Linked DNA regions of Homo sapiens: all the other regions are linked to region 3. The links are contacts of gene promoters, found by promoter capture Hi-C in blood cells and fetal thymus (Javierre and others, 2016). All regions are on one chromosome and are shown on one strand. Each heading gives the region's core, a stretch centred on a gene start or on the middle of the fragment in contact. The rest is flanking DNA. Distances are from core to core; before and after follow the strand shown. Region 1 holds the start of ALPK2 (alpha kinase 2). Region 2 has its middle 71 kb from the start of SEC11C. Region 3 holds the start of LINC01926 (long intergenic non-protein coding RNA 1926).

Region 1 (4,099 bases), core at 163-2,662, 180 kb after region 3:
ATTATTTCAGAGGAACAAAATTAAGTTTCATAGTGAATTTCAACTTTTCCATTTAATAACTCCCAGGCAACACTTCTTTCACAACCATATCACATTTATCTATTGCTTTGGGACATTCCTTCACTTTTGACTTTATTCTCTCTGTGGTGTGCGACAGCATTTGTTTATTCTTTATCATCACACTTTCCTCCTCTCTTCATTCCCAACTTGAAGTTATCTCCTCTTTCTTATCTGGAAAAGACCTTACATTGTGAAGACCTCAGCTTTCCATAAAGCCGACCATTTGCAAAGAGTTGGTAATTTCTGTGTTCTGTGGCATTTCACAGATGTGTTCCCCAGGAGATAGTCATTATTTTACAGTGCCTCAGCTTTAATATCTTTTTTCTCACATGAAGATAAAACTGAAAAACAGAACATATCACCCCTACATTTCTTAATATTTTATCGTTTTAGATGAGTTTTCATCTTGTGAAAAGTTGCATTCCATCAAGGGATAATGATGTACATTCTGTGCTGTGTAAAAACAATTTGCTTTTGAGGATTGCAGTGCCCTACACAGAGTGAATATTTACAGCTATGTCCCTTTCAAAGTCACCCCTGGAGCTGCTAATTTGAGCTGTCTCCACGAGTCTCAAAAGAGGTTTCTGTCTAAGCTGTCAATTTCCAGGTGTCATACATTAAAATATTTTTGGGGAGAGGCTAAGTAGTTACAGAATGATGCTAAAGGATTCTCTATGTTTTTGGACTTGGATAAACTTCAATAAAAGAATTGCCCATATTACAAAATCTACTTTCCCAACAAGAACCATTCCAGGCAATCTGAAGGAATAGGACCTGTGGTATTTCTTCTGTGGATTTCTTCTGATCTTTGTCTGTTCTCTTCTATCGTAGTCAAAATAGGAAGGGGTGTGTGTGTGTGTGTGTGTGTGTGTGTGTGTGAGAGAGAGAGAGAGAGAGACAGACAGACAGACAAGGGGTAAGGGGGGGTAAGCAGGGTGAGGAGGGTGGATCCTGCCTTCCTTCTGTGGCTTCTGCCTTTCTCAGAGAACTTCAGAGGATGGCTATAATGCCTGTTCTAAATGAACAACATATGACACATATTTTCACCTCCCCAACACCCCCTCCACGGGTTTCCTATGTGTACTTCAAATGCCTGATAACCTTGGTATGAGAACTGGTTGTGTTACTCCGGCCTTAATCCCTTTATCAGGCAGCAAGTTTTTCCTTTCCTAAGGAGCGAGCAACTAAGCCCAGGGTCCAGCATGGGCTTTGTAAAGAGCTGCTCGGTCTCCTGAGCAGCAGCCAGTGACAGCTCGTCTGGGTTTCATCAGCTCCCTGGGGCTGCATTTCACCAGGCCCCCTTGCCAGGGCCTCCCCAGCGTGTCGTGTCAACAAGTGTCGCACCTACTGCAGAAACAGCCCTCAAGTTTCATCACAGGGATGCTAAAATATATTCTCCAGCTTCAGCAATGACCTAGTTCACTGAAGGGCGGGGAAAAAATGCTCTTCTTCCAGAACTTCCCCGGGCATGGAATTTCCCCTCTTAGGAAGAGATGAACTTTCTGGAAGCAGACCCATCTATGCTTTGACCTGATCATGGAAGACCCTGAGCCCTATAAACTCCTTTGAATCCCTGTCCCGGGAACAGGGACACCCAATCAATGCCTCACACACAGCCTGGGGAATCCACAGCTGAGCCAGCCCTCCTACAACATTTCTTGGACAAAGAGTACTGAAAAGTAAGTATGTAGACTTTGGTTTTTACATAAGGAATGGCTGTGCTTTCAATATATAGTTGTTTACATTTTCTGCAACAAAGAACAAAGCAGATGGTTTCCTGATGAAATAGAATGAGATGAAACCAATAGGGATTATATGGGATATTTGGGCATATAAGGTTTTAAAGTGGGCAAACTCTCATGGTCTTGTAATTTAAGTCCATTTTGACCCTTTTTGAAAATTATTGCTATTTTTAAATTTGCTTATTTTGGCTTGACAATAATGAATGAAAACAGTTTCTTTCACATCATGTCTATCTTAACAGTTAGAAAAAATATACAGAATGACTCAAACGAGTGATATGTAAAGTTTTGCAAAGCAACATAAAAAGTCAACTATCCAGGTAACTCAGGCCCCAGAGACTTTTGTCTGAAATATTTGAGTATTTTAGTCAAGAGTTATTCCTTTTACTGTGAATTAACTGAATGATTGAAAATCTCTCCTATCTGGGTAGACACAGGAGTATATTGTCTGACAACAGGTAATGCAATTTGCTGAAAAGCTATCAGGCTTTTCAAAATGGCTGATGTAAACATTTATCGAGTTGTTAAATAGATTTAAAAAAAAATTTAAGGCAAAAAGTCAGCCAAAAAAAAATCCATCAATTAAATGCCACCACTGTCACATTACAATTTAATGAACACATCTAAACTTTAAAAGCCTTGATTAAGGGTGTCAGTTACAGACATTTGGCAATCATTTAAAAATAGATAAAAGCAAGAACGGCATTTAGAGCTGCTTCTGCTCTAATTATTTTCTTTCCACAACCTTTTCCTTAAGTAAAGGTAGCCTTTATTTCTAAAGATTAATTAACCAGGAATGGTCATTCCAGAGATATGTGATATGTTTTATAACTCTATATCAACTAAGGACAAATTGAAGGGGTTTTTTGCTGTGTGGCTTCTGAATTGAAACCAAGGATGTTGTGGGTTACCTTCCGAATCAACAACTTCACAAATCCTGTATTAAAAAGCATGGATGGCCAATAACCATGTTCAGATCTTGGAAATCAGGACTTAAAACAAACTAAATGAACTTTAGCTCCCAAATATACATTGTCCTTTTTTTGTTTTGTTTTGTTTGTTTGTTTTTTGTTTTTAGATAGAGTTTTGCTCTTGTTGCCCAGGCTGGAGTACAATGTCTCAGTCTCAGCTCACTGCAACCTCCGCCCCCTGGGTTCAAGCGATTCTCCTGCCTCAGCCTCCCAAAGTAGGTGGCATTACGGGTGCCTGCCACCATGCCCAGCTAATTTTTTTTGTATTTTTAGTTGAGATGGGGTTTCACCATGTTGGCCAGGCTGGTCTTGAACTCCTGACCTCAGGTGATCCACCCGCCTCGGCCTCCCAAAGTCTTGGGATTACAGGCGTGAGCCACCGCGCCTGGCCTACATTGTCTTTTTGATGTTTTTACCAAACATTTAATCATAATTTTGGGAAGCTTTTAGGTAGGGCAGAGTTCCTATTGTCATTACCTACAAAGTTTTTTTCTCCTCCAGTTTCATGAGTTTTTAACAGCCTCCTGAACACTTGTGTGTAGGTATCAGCCCCTGTGATGCGATGCAGTTGAGTTAGTATCTTACTCTGGATGGAGGTGGGAGAAGCAGGGGAGGTCCTGAGAAAGGCTTTGGAGTCAGATTTGGAATCGACTCCTAATTTTAGCATAACTTTTCAACCTGTTTGAACCCCAGTTTACTCATCTGTAAAATCTTAACAGTATTCACTTTAACAGGATTGATGGGGGATTAGATGAATAAATATACCTAAAGTATGTGTCGAATCATAGTTTCTCAATGAAAGTTAGTTTTTCACCTTAATTAAAAGCTTCTGTCTTTTTTTTTTTTGCTAAAACTTTAGAATACTACCATAAAATAAACTATATAAAGTAATAGAAACTATACATTATCTGCATCAGTGCAATACAACATAACACAATTAGATTCTTTGAGAAAAATTCTGTACTTGGAAACAATGTGTTTGAAAATTAAAAAAAGATATTTTAGAATGTATCTATGATAAATAAGAAAAAATTTTTTTTTACTAAAAATAGTTGATGGATAATTGATGCTTATTATCTAAAAGCAGAAGTAGAGATTTATCAACATCCTCTGGGAATGCTTTTTAATACATATCATTACCATATTTAAATATGAGTGTTTGGGAATCCATAGTAATGAAAGGCCTGTGATCATGATGAAAACTATGAAAATGAAGGCACACGCCCAGCCTTTCCTCAAAGATTATAGTCGAGTCTTGCATTGAGAGAGGTGGGGGCGGGAGTGGAGGTGAAAACTCTTTGAAGTGGACTAGCCTTTGGAGGAGCA
Region 2 (4,314 bases), core at 1,262-3,761, 250 kb before region 3:
TCCCAGATTTCTGGCCTCATAACTGGAAGCATTTGGCAATTTGGCTGCAGAACGATGTTGGCATGTGAGTCATCTCCCACCGAAGTCCACCCATGTGGCAGTGTTACCCTGAAAATGCCACTGGTCCTCAACAGCTCCTTGGAGGCCTAACGAAGTGAGAGGGTTCAGGTGCCAAAGAAGCCACCAGGGGGCTCCCGAGGAACTCGATGAACTTCGGCGTTCACTGAAAAGCCAATTAGGCTGCCTTCTCACAGCGCGGCTGTTGAGCCTTGGCGCCCCACTCCCTCAGGTTGGCTTCTTCAGCAGAGGGACCAGACCTCAGGGAGATGAGGTCTCTCATCTCATCATCCTCAGGGAGATGATCCCCGTGGCTGGCTGGCAAGGCCAAGGTTAGCTGTCCGTGGCCATCAGAGTGTGTGAAACGTTCAGCCTTCCCCTCCCCACCCACATTGGTCATCTTTGCAAACGCACTGGACAGCAAAGAGCATCCTCAGATGTGGCGCATCCCACGCTAATAAGGACCTTGTAGCCTGCGGTTGTTAATACTTTAATGAGTAAGTACACAAAGAGCTTTATTATAAGCGATGGAATGGACTTAATTAATCCATAACTGTAGACAGTTAATGCATAATTATACACCTAGAAAAAACACACATCCGAGAGCCTGGATCCTAGCATCTCTGTTTGGCCTTGCGAGTCTCTCCTCATCTCTAGGTCTCATCGCTGCAAATTGAGGGGGTTGGGCTGGAAACCACTGGCTGAGGTCTCTTCCTTCTCTGTTAGTTTTTGTTGAGGCCCTATGTTGGTGCATAGGGATATCCATCTATCTAGGGCTGCTGTGACAAAGTACCAAAAACTGGGTGGCTTGAAACAACAGACATGAATTATCTCACAGTTCTGGAGGCCAGAAGTCCAAAATCGAGGTGTCCCACGGGGCCATGCTTTCTCGGGCAGCTCCAGGGCAGACTCTGTCCTTACCTCCCCCGGTTTCTGGGGTTTGCCTTGGTGTTCCTGGGTTTGCACATGACTGTCTTCTCCCTGGGTCTTCACATCGTCTTCCCTGTGTGTATGCCTGTCTCCGTGACCAAACTTCTGCTTATTATAAGGACACCAGTCATACTGGATTAGAATCTCCATCCCCAGTGACCTCGTTGGACTTCATTATCTCTATAAAGACCCTGGCTCCAAATAAGGCCACATTCTGAGGGAATGGGAGTTAGGACTTCAACAGAGCTTTTGGGGGAGGGGATACAATTCAGTCCAAAACAGGGACTATGGTGAAGAATAGGTGATATTTGAAAGGCCCTATAATGACAGACCCATGAAGTATGCATGCTAGCGGGTCATACCACTGAGGTTCTAGGATAAAGTTACAAGTCTGCAAAGACGCCATAATAACACATAAACAATTCTGTCGTGGGAAAGTGCATACTGCATGTTGTAATTTTACAGAGAAAAGTGAAGAGCATAACCCAAATGAGCTTCATAACCCAAATTACATTAAATGCACGACATTTAATCATTTCCTGTGATCATTGATACAGACAATCAAATGGAGTTTAAACCAAAAAGAAATCCAGTTTCTGTTGTTGTTGTTGTTGTTGTTTGCTAAAATGGTACAACAGAAGTTTATTATTGTGCTACTAAAAATTTAGAGAACTCTCTTACATCATAAGAACTAAGAACTCTTTCACATATTAAATGCAAAGAAAATGTATATATTAAACTTTCACAAAATGAGATTCACACCCCTTCTCGGGAATACAAGCATTCATCACCTAGATAAGGCCACCTCATCTTTGCTCGTCATTACCAACAAGGCCCATCCATTCTTTTGTGTTTTAACCAGAACATTCATGGCCCAGCAGGTGCTGCTTCAGTTCCTGACATGGTTTCTCAATGAACAGCGTCAGGGCCAGCCCAGTGACGAAGGTCAGCACACGGTGTCCAGAGAAAAGATAGAACTGGAGAGAAAGTGGGCAGGGTGAACACAGTTTTACTCTGGGATTCCTATTGTGTTCAGATCTAAAGTGTACCATCCTAGCTCTATGAAATGCATCTGTAGGACAATCAGTGCTACATATTAAAAATAAAATAAATAAAATAAAAGATATTATCCTGTGCTGAAGCCCTCCCTCTTTCTGCCACAAATAAAGCAAAGAACAATGAAGCTCTTAAAAAAAAAAAAGACTTCCACGAAAGCAAATAGGTTGCCTTGTTGCTCAAGAAGAGAACAAGCTATGATACCATAACCTACCGTAACAGAACTAGGAGCTGCGTGCTAACTCACCATGTTGGTGTCAGTGTGGTGAATAAGTGTTTCCTGAAGGCCATTGTAAAGGATGATCAGAATCGGATGCACCAAGTAGCGAGCATAACTGATGCTGGACAGGAAACTCCAGATGTCCCAAGAAAGCACACGGTTCACCAGACCTGGAGGGAACAAGCACTGATGCATGAAGCCACAGCCTGTCTCTGGGCCAGTGAAGATGCCCATCATCCCATCGATGCTCCCATTGCATTCTGTGCCTAAGTCTGTGAACTTTTCCTAAGAAAGTCTTTATGCGTTATCATTTTAAGACAATGTACCAAACCAAAAACCACCTTTCTGTTGCAAGAATTATGATAACACAAGAGAGATACATGGTTTCAGCCCCTGAGCATAAAACATTGCATGTATAAAACAAGGTAAAAATTCCTCATATTCACCTGGGTTCTGGATCAAGATGCAGCCACAGGGGGGCGTTGGGATAAGGCATTTAACATTGCCAGGCCTCAAACTCTTCTGTCAGTGAGAGGCTTGCATTTGTAGGTGCCTTTCAGGACAAATATTCTGTAACTTGGTATATATTCTAGAACTGTGTTGTCCCAGACAATAGCCCCTAGCCACTTGTGGCTATTTAACTTAATTAAAATTAAATGCAATGAAAACTTCCTTTCTGAATAGGACTTATTGCTATCTCTAGTGAGTTGCATAGTGATCTTTCAAAAGATATGTCCACCCAGAACCTCAGAATGTAACCTTATTTGGAATAAGGGTCTTTGCAGATGTCATTAAGAGAAAGAACTAGAGATGAGATCATCCTGGATTAGGGTGGACCCTAAACCCAATGACAAATGTCCTTATAAGAGACAGAAAAGGAGACACAAATGCAGAGGAGAGACACAAGGAAGAGAACCATGTGATGACGAAGACAGAGACTGGAGTGAAGAGTCCATGAGCCAAGGAATGCCAAGGCTTGCCAGCAGCTACCAGAGGCTAGGAGAGGGGATGGGACAGATTCTCCCTCAGAAAATCCAGATGGAACCAACCCTGCTGACACTTCGATTTTGAACAGCTAGCCTCCAGAACTGTGAGAGAAAAAAATTTCTGTTGTTTTAAGCCACAGATATAAAATATAACTTCTGTTTCTCCTTTGCACAAGCCTCATTAAAAGTGCTCAGTAGTGAATCACAATTTGCTCAGGATAAATCTTTGGAGCCTTCCCAGACTCCTTTCATTCCAGACTCCATAGAGTGCTTCCAAAAATATGTCTCAAATCAGACCATTGCTCCTCACCTCCATGGCTAACACCCTCGTGAATCTTCCATCACCTCCTGCGTGGGCCTCCATGGTAGCTTCCCAGTGGATCTGTTGGTCTCTGCTCTTGTTCTTGCCACCTTATAGTCCCCACACCACATCCAGAGTAATCTTTTAAAATCACATATCAGGGAGAAATGGGGAAGGGGGAGATATTGATCAAAGCGTACAAAGTTTCAGTTAAACCGATGGAGTAAGTTTTAGTGATCTATTGCACTGCATAGTGACCACAGTTAATAATAATGTACTGGATATTTTTCAATGGCTAAAAGAAAAGATTCTTAACATTCTTACCACAAAAAAGAGATAACTTGGTGAAGTGATGCCTATGTTAATTAACTTGATTTCATCTTTCTACTAGGTATACATATACCAAAACATCACATTGTACCCCATAAATACAGTTATTATTTGTCCATTTGAAAATAAATTTTACAAATCCACAAATCAAATCATGGGCTATGATCTGAGTGTTTACATTCCCCCAAAATTCATATGTTGAGATCCTAATCCCCAAGGTGTTAGTATCAAGAGGTGGAGTCTTTGGAGAGGCAATTAGTTCACGAGGGCTGGGCCTTCAGGAATGGTATCAGTGCTCTTATAAAAGCGACCCCAGAGAGACAGCCCTACCCTTCCGCCATGTGAGGACACATCTAGAAAGTTCCAGCTAAGAACCAGAAAGCAGGCCTTCACCAAACACTAAATCTGCTGGTGCCTTGATCTTAGACCTCCCA
Region 3 (4,182 bases), core at 1,651-4,150:
ATCTCCTTGCCTCGTGATCCGCCCGCCTCGGCCTCCCAAAGTGCTGGGATTACAGGCGTGAGCCACCGCGCCCGGCCGGGGAATTTCAAACTTACTGATACCTTGTGTTTTCCTCCCAGGGACAGGTACAAGAGGGTGTGACTGTGGGAAGGGACACACTAACAATAGGCAAGGGGCCCAGGTTGTTTCTTCTGTGAAGGTACCGGTCTGTGGCCTGTTAGGAACCGGCAGCACAGCAGGAGGTGAGCGGCTGGTGAGCCATTATTGCCTGAGCTCCGCCTCCTGTCAGATCAGCGGCAGCATTAGATTCTCATAGGAGCAGGAATCCTATCGTGAACTGCGCATGTGAGGGATCTAGGTTGCGTGCTCTGTATGGGAATCTAATGCCTGATCATGTGAGGTGGAACAGTTTCATCTTCCCCACCCCTGGTCCGTGGAAAAATTGTCTTCCATGAAACCATGAAACCGGTCCCTGGTCCCAGAAAGGTTGGGGTCTGCTGCCCTAATTCATGCACTAGAGTTTCATATGCTGACATGATCTCTGTGATCATAAATATGAATTAGATTAAATTTATCTTTGACTCCAGTACAATTTCCTCTTTTCTCTCTTTTTGGTAACTCCCAATTCAGGTGCATCTGCAATGCATTCTCACAATTCATTTCAATTTAGTAAATGATGGCTGAGTGTCTCCCCATTCAAGGCACTGTGTTAGACACTGGGACAGAAAACTAAATAAGACTTGATCCTGCAGCAGAAGAGACAGCCAGGCAGGTATCTAGAATTCAGTGTGTTGAATATGACAGTGTAAGTGCCTATGCTGCCACAGCCTCCTTCTGAGCAAACAGCCGGTTGGTTCCTTATGCAAAGGTCATCCAACGTAGAAACAAATATGCTGAATCTCCTGAGGAGACAGTGATTAATTTAGGCTAGAGGTCAGTGTGGGACCAATCAAGGTGACGTTGGAATTAATTTGGACTTGAGGAGCGTACAGTTTCATAAGGCAGAGAAACATATACTACAAAGAATGAGGTATATTTGTGAGGATTTGGAGCTGTGCCATTCCTTAGAGTATTAAAGTCATGAAAAAAAGGCTGGGCGCAGTGGCTCACGCCTGTAATCCCAGTACTTTGGGAGACCAAGGCGATCACAAGGTCAGAAGTTCGAGACCAGCCCGACCAATATGATGAAATCCTGTCTCTACTAAAAACACACAAAAAAATAGCCAGCATGGTGGAATGCGCCTGTAATCCCAGCTACTTGGGAGGCTGAGACAGAAGAATCCTTTGAATCCGGGAGGCAGAGGTTGCAGTGAGCAGAGATTGCGCCATTGCACTCCAGCCTGGGCAACAAGAGCGAAACTCTGTTTCAAAAAAAAAAAAAAAAGACTATGATTATCATGCATGGGGTTAGGGATGGGGGTGCAGGAGATGAGGTAAATTGGAGGTAGATTGGGGTCGGATTGGGAGGTGAATTTCTGCCTATTCTGATGAAGAGTCATCAGTGCTTCGCAGGCATGGCAGTGGCATTACAGATGTGTTTTGGAAGAAAATTCAGGAACAGGGAAGGGTTGTAGTTTGTAGCTGTCAGATGCAATGAGGCAGATTAAAAGCTAGACAATTTAGGCCAGTCGCGGTGGCTCATGCCTGTAATCCCAGCACTTCAGGAGGCTGAGGTGGTCAGAGTGCTTGAGTTCTGGAGTTCAAAATTAGCCTGGGCAACATTGTGAAACCCTGTCTCTACTAAAAACATACAAAAATCAGCTAGGCATAGTGGTGCACACCTATAGTCCTAGCTACTCGGGAGGCTGAGGTGGGAGGACCACTTGAGCCTGGGAGGCAGAGGTTGCAGTGAGCCGAGATCACGCCACTGCACTCCAGCCTGGATGACAGAGCGAGACCCTGTCTCAAAAAAAAAAAAAAAAAAAGAAAGAAAGAAAAAAAAAGAATGACCTTCTCTTTTAAGGCTGAACTCTATTCCATTGTATGTATGTTCCACATTGTGTTTCTCCATTCGTCTATCAGTGGACACTTAAGTTGCTTCCACAGTTTAGTTGTTAGAAATGTGGAAGTACAAGTATCTGTTTGAGTCCCTGTATTAGTCCGTTTTCACACTGCTATAAAGATACTGCCTGATATATTACCTGAGACTGGGCAATCTATAAACAAAAGAGGCTTAATTGACTCGCAGTTCCCCATGGCTGGGGAAGCCTCAGGAAACTTATGGTCATAGTGGAAGGCAAAGGGGAAGCAGGCACCTTCTTCACAAGGCGGCAGGAGAGAGTGTGAGTGAAGGGAAAGCCCCTTATAATACCATCGAATCTTGTGAGAACTTACTGTCATGAGAGCAACATGGGGGAAACCAGTTCCATGATCCAATCACCTCCTACCAGGTCCCTCCCTGGACTTGTGGGGATTACAATTCAAGGTGAGATTTGGGTGGGGACCCAGAGCCATGCCATATCAGTGCCTGCTTTCATTTCTTTTGGGAACATACTCTGAAGCATAATTGCTAGATCATATGGTAATTTTAGGGTTAAGTTTTTGAGGAACGTCATTACTGTTTTCTACAACAATGGCGCCATTTTACATTCCCACCAGCAATGTACAAGGATTCCAATTTCCCAACATCCTCACCAGTTGTTATTTTCTGTTCTGTTTATTTGGATATTAGCCATCCTAATGAGTGACAGTGAAATTTTACTTACATGAAGGATCTCATTCTCCACTGATACCCACGAAAACAAAGGGGACCATTCTGCACTTGGCTGAAGTGAGCATTTTCTCATCAGGAGAGGAGTAGCCCAGGGGATGTCCACTGGAGATAGGGTGGGCGCCCTCCACTCCATCTTCCCTTCTTGGAAACTTGGAGAATTTCTTGTGTTATTCTTGGGACTGTGATGTGTATAAATAGAATGGGATGAGGGAAAAAGAAAAGGTTGAGAGCCAGTTCAGAAAGATCCTTGTAATATATTTTGTTGATCTTACTTTTTCAAACTTGTACAGCTTGATGGCTGTGAGCAAATATTTCCACTAGGAATCTGTTGACATTTCCACCACTCTTCTCTTCTTTTTCTGTTCTGTTTTTTTTTTCTGCCTAGTCTTTCAGTGTCAATCTTGTCTTAATTTCAGCATGCATTCTGTCCTCATGCATAAATTAGGTATGGTTTTCTGCTCTTTATTCGAAATTGCCTATTTCTATTGTAAATTACACCAATCATAATTTCCAGTTTACCGCTTTTCTCCAGACATTTTTGCTTTTAATACAAATTCATAAATTAAAAGTCAACTACTCTCACTCCCAAAGATTAAAAAGATAAAAGCCTGTAATTTGGTGGACACCGATCATCAAATATGCATGTTACACTGAAGAACTGGCTTTGCAATTCTGCAGCTGTACTCTTGGGTTGGTGATGAAGAAGACAGTTATAGGGGATCCCGAGCTTTCAGCATCTCAGTAGTGCCAGTACATCTGGAATCCAAGACAAAATGTGAATGCAGGCATCATGAAGCAGAATTCGAGCTGTGCGGTAATCAGCCAGATGATCTGCAACACACAGATGCTAGCTTTTTTTTAGATAACCACCAAAATAGAAACACAAATTTTACACTCAAAGAACACTCAGGGCCCTTAGTGGAGAAATAGCTGCATCGTGCCAGTTATGAATTCTGTTGTTTTTGGTGGTCACAATTTATCATAGCCCCACTTAACCATGATTTCACTTTCCATGGTTTCAGTTACCTTCCGTTAACTAAGGTCCAAAAATATTAAATGGAAAATTCCAGAAATAAGCAATTCATAAGCTTTAAGTTGCACCTGCCATTCTGAGTAGTGTGATGAAGCCTTGCACCTGCGGTGGGATTCCTCCCTTTGTCCAGCATCTCCATGCCATAGATGTCCCCACTCATGAGTCACATCGGAGCCCTCTCAGTTACCACATCGGCTGTCTCTGTATTGCAGTGCTTGGGTTCAAGTCATTCTTATTTCACTTCATGATGGCCCCATAGCGCAAGAATACTGATGCTGACCGGGCGTAGTGGCTCACACCTGTAATCCCAGAACTCTGGGAGGCCGAGGTGGGTGGATCACCTGAGGACAGGAGTTCAAGACAAGCCTGGCCAACGTGGTGAAATCCCATCTCTACTAAAAATAGAAAAATTAGCCAGGGATGGTGGTGCATACCT

The links. Contacts are between HindIII fragments. The CHiCAGO score rates a contact against its expected background, and 5 or more counts as called.
Region 1: the fragment with the promoter of ALPK2 here is called in contact with the fragment with the promoter of LINC01926 in region 3 in 11 of 17 cell types (neutrophils, monocytes, total B cells and 8 more); the score reaches 9.8 in neutrophils.
Region 2: a fragment that was not itself captured here is called in contact with the fragment with the promoter of LINC01926 in region 3 in 12 of 17 cell types (total B cells, monocytes, naive B cells and 9 more); the score reaches 9.9 in total B cells.

What each region holds. Positions count from the first base shown.
Region 1 is chr18:58,626,404-58,630,502 of GRCh38, reverse strand. ALPK2 (alpha kinase 2) reads left to right here and starts at 1,412. Exons shown (of 13, transcript NM_052947.4): 1 at 1,412-1,739. RefSeq lists an enhancer at 853-1,395. The HindIII fragment of the contact is 8,777 bases long and covers 1-3,218 here.
Region 2 is chr18:59,066,491-59,070,804 of GRCh38, reverse strand. It overlaps the pseudogene OACYLP. Among named protein-coding and RNA genes, the nearest start is that of SEC11C, 71 kb to the left of the region's middle. The HindIII fragment of the contact is 8,599 bases long and covers 1-4,314 here.
Region 3 is chr18:58,812,598-58,816,779 of GRCh38, reverse strand. It overlaps LINC01926 (long intergenic non-protein coding RNA 1926), which reads right to left and starts at 2,900. Exons shown (of 3, transcript NR_146904.1): 1 at 2,706-2,900. The HindIII fragment of the contact is 11,966 bases long and covers 1-3,803 here.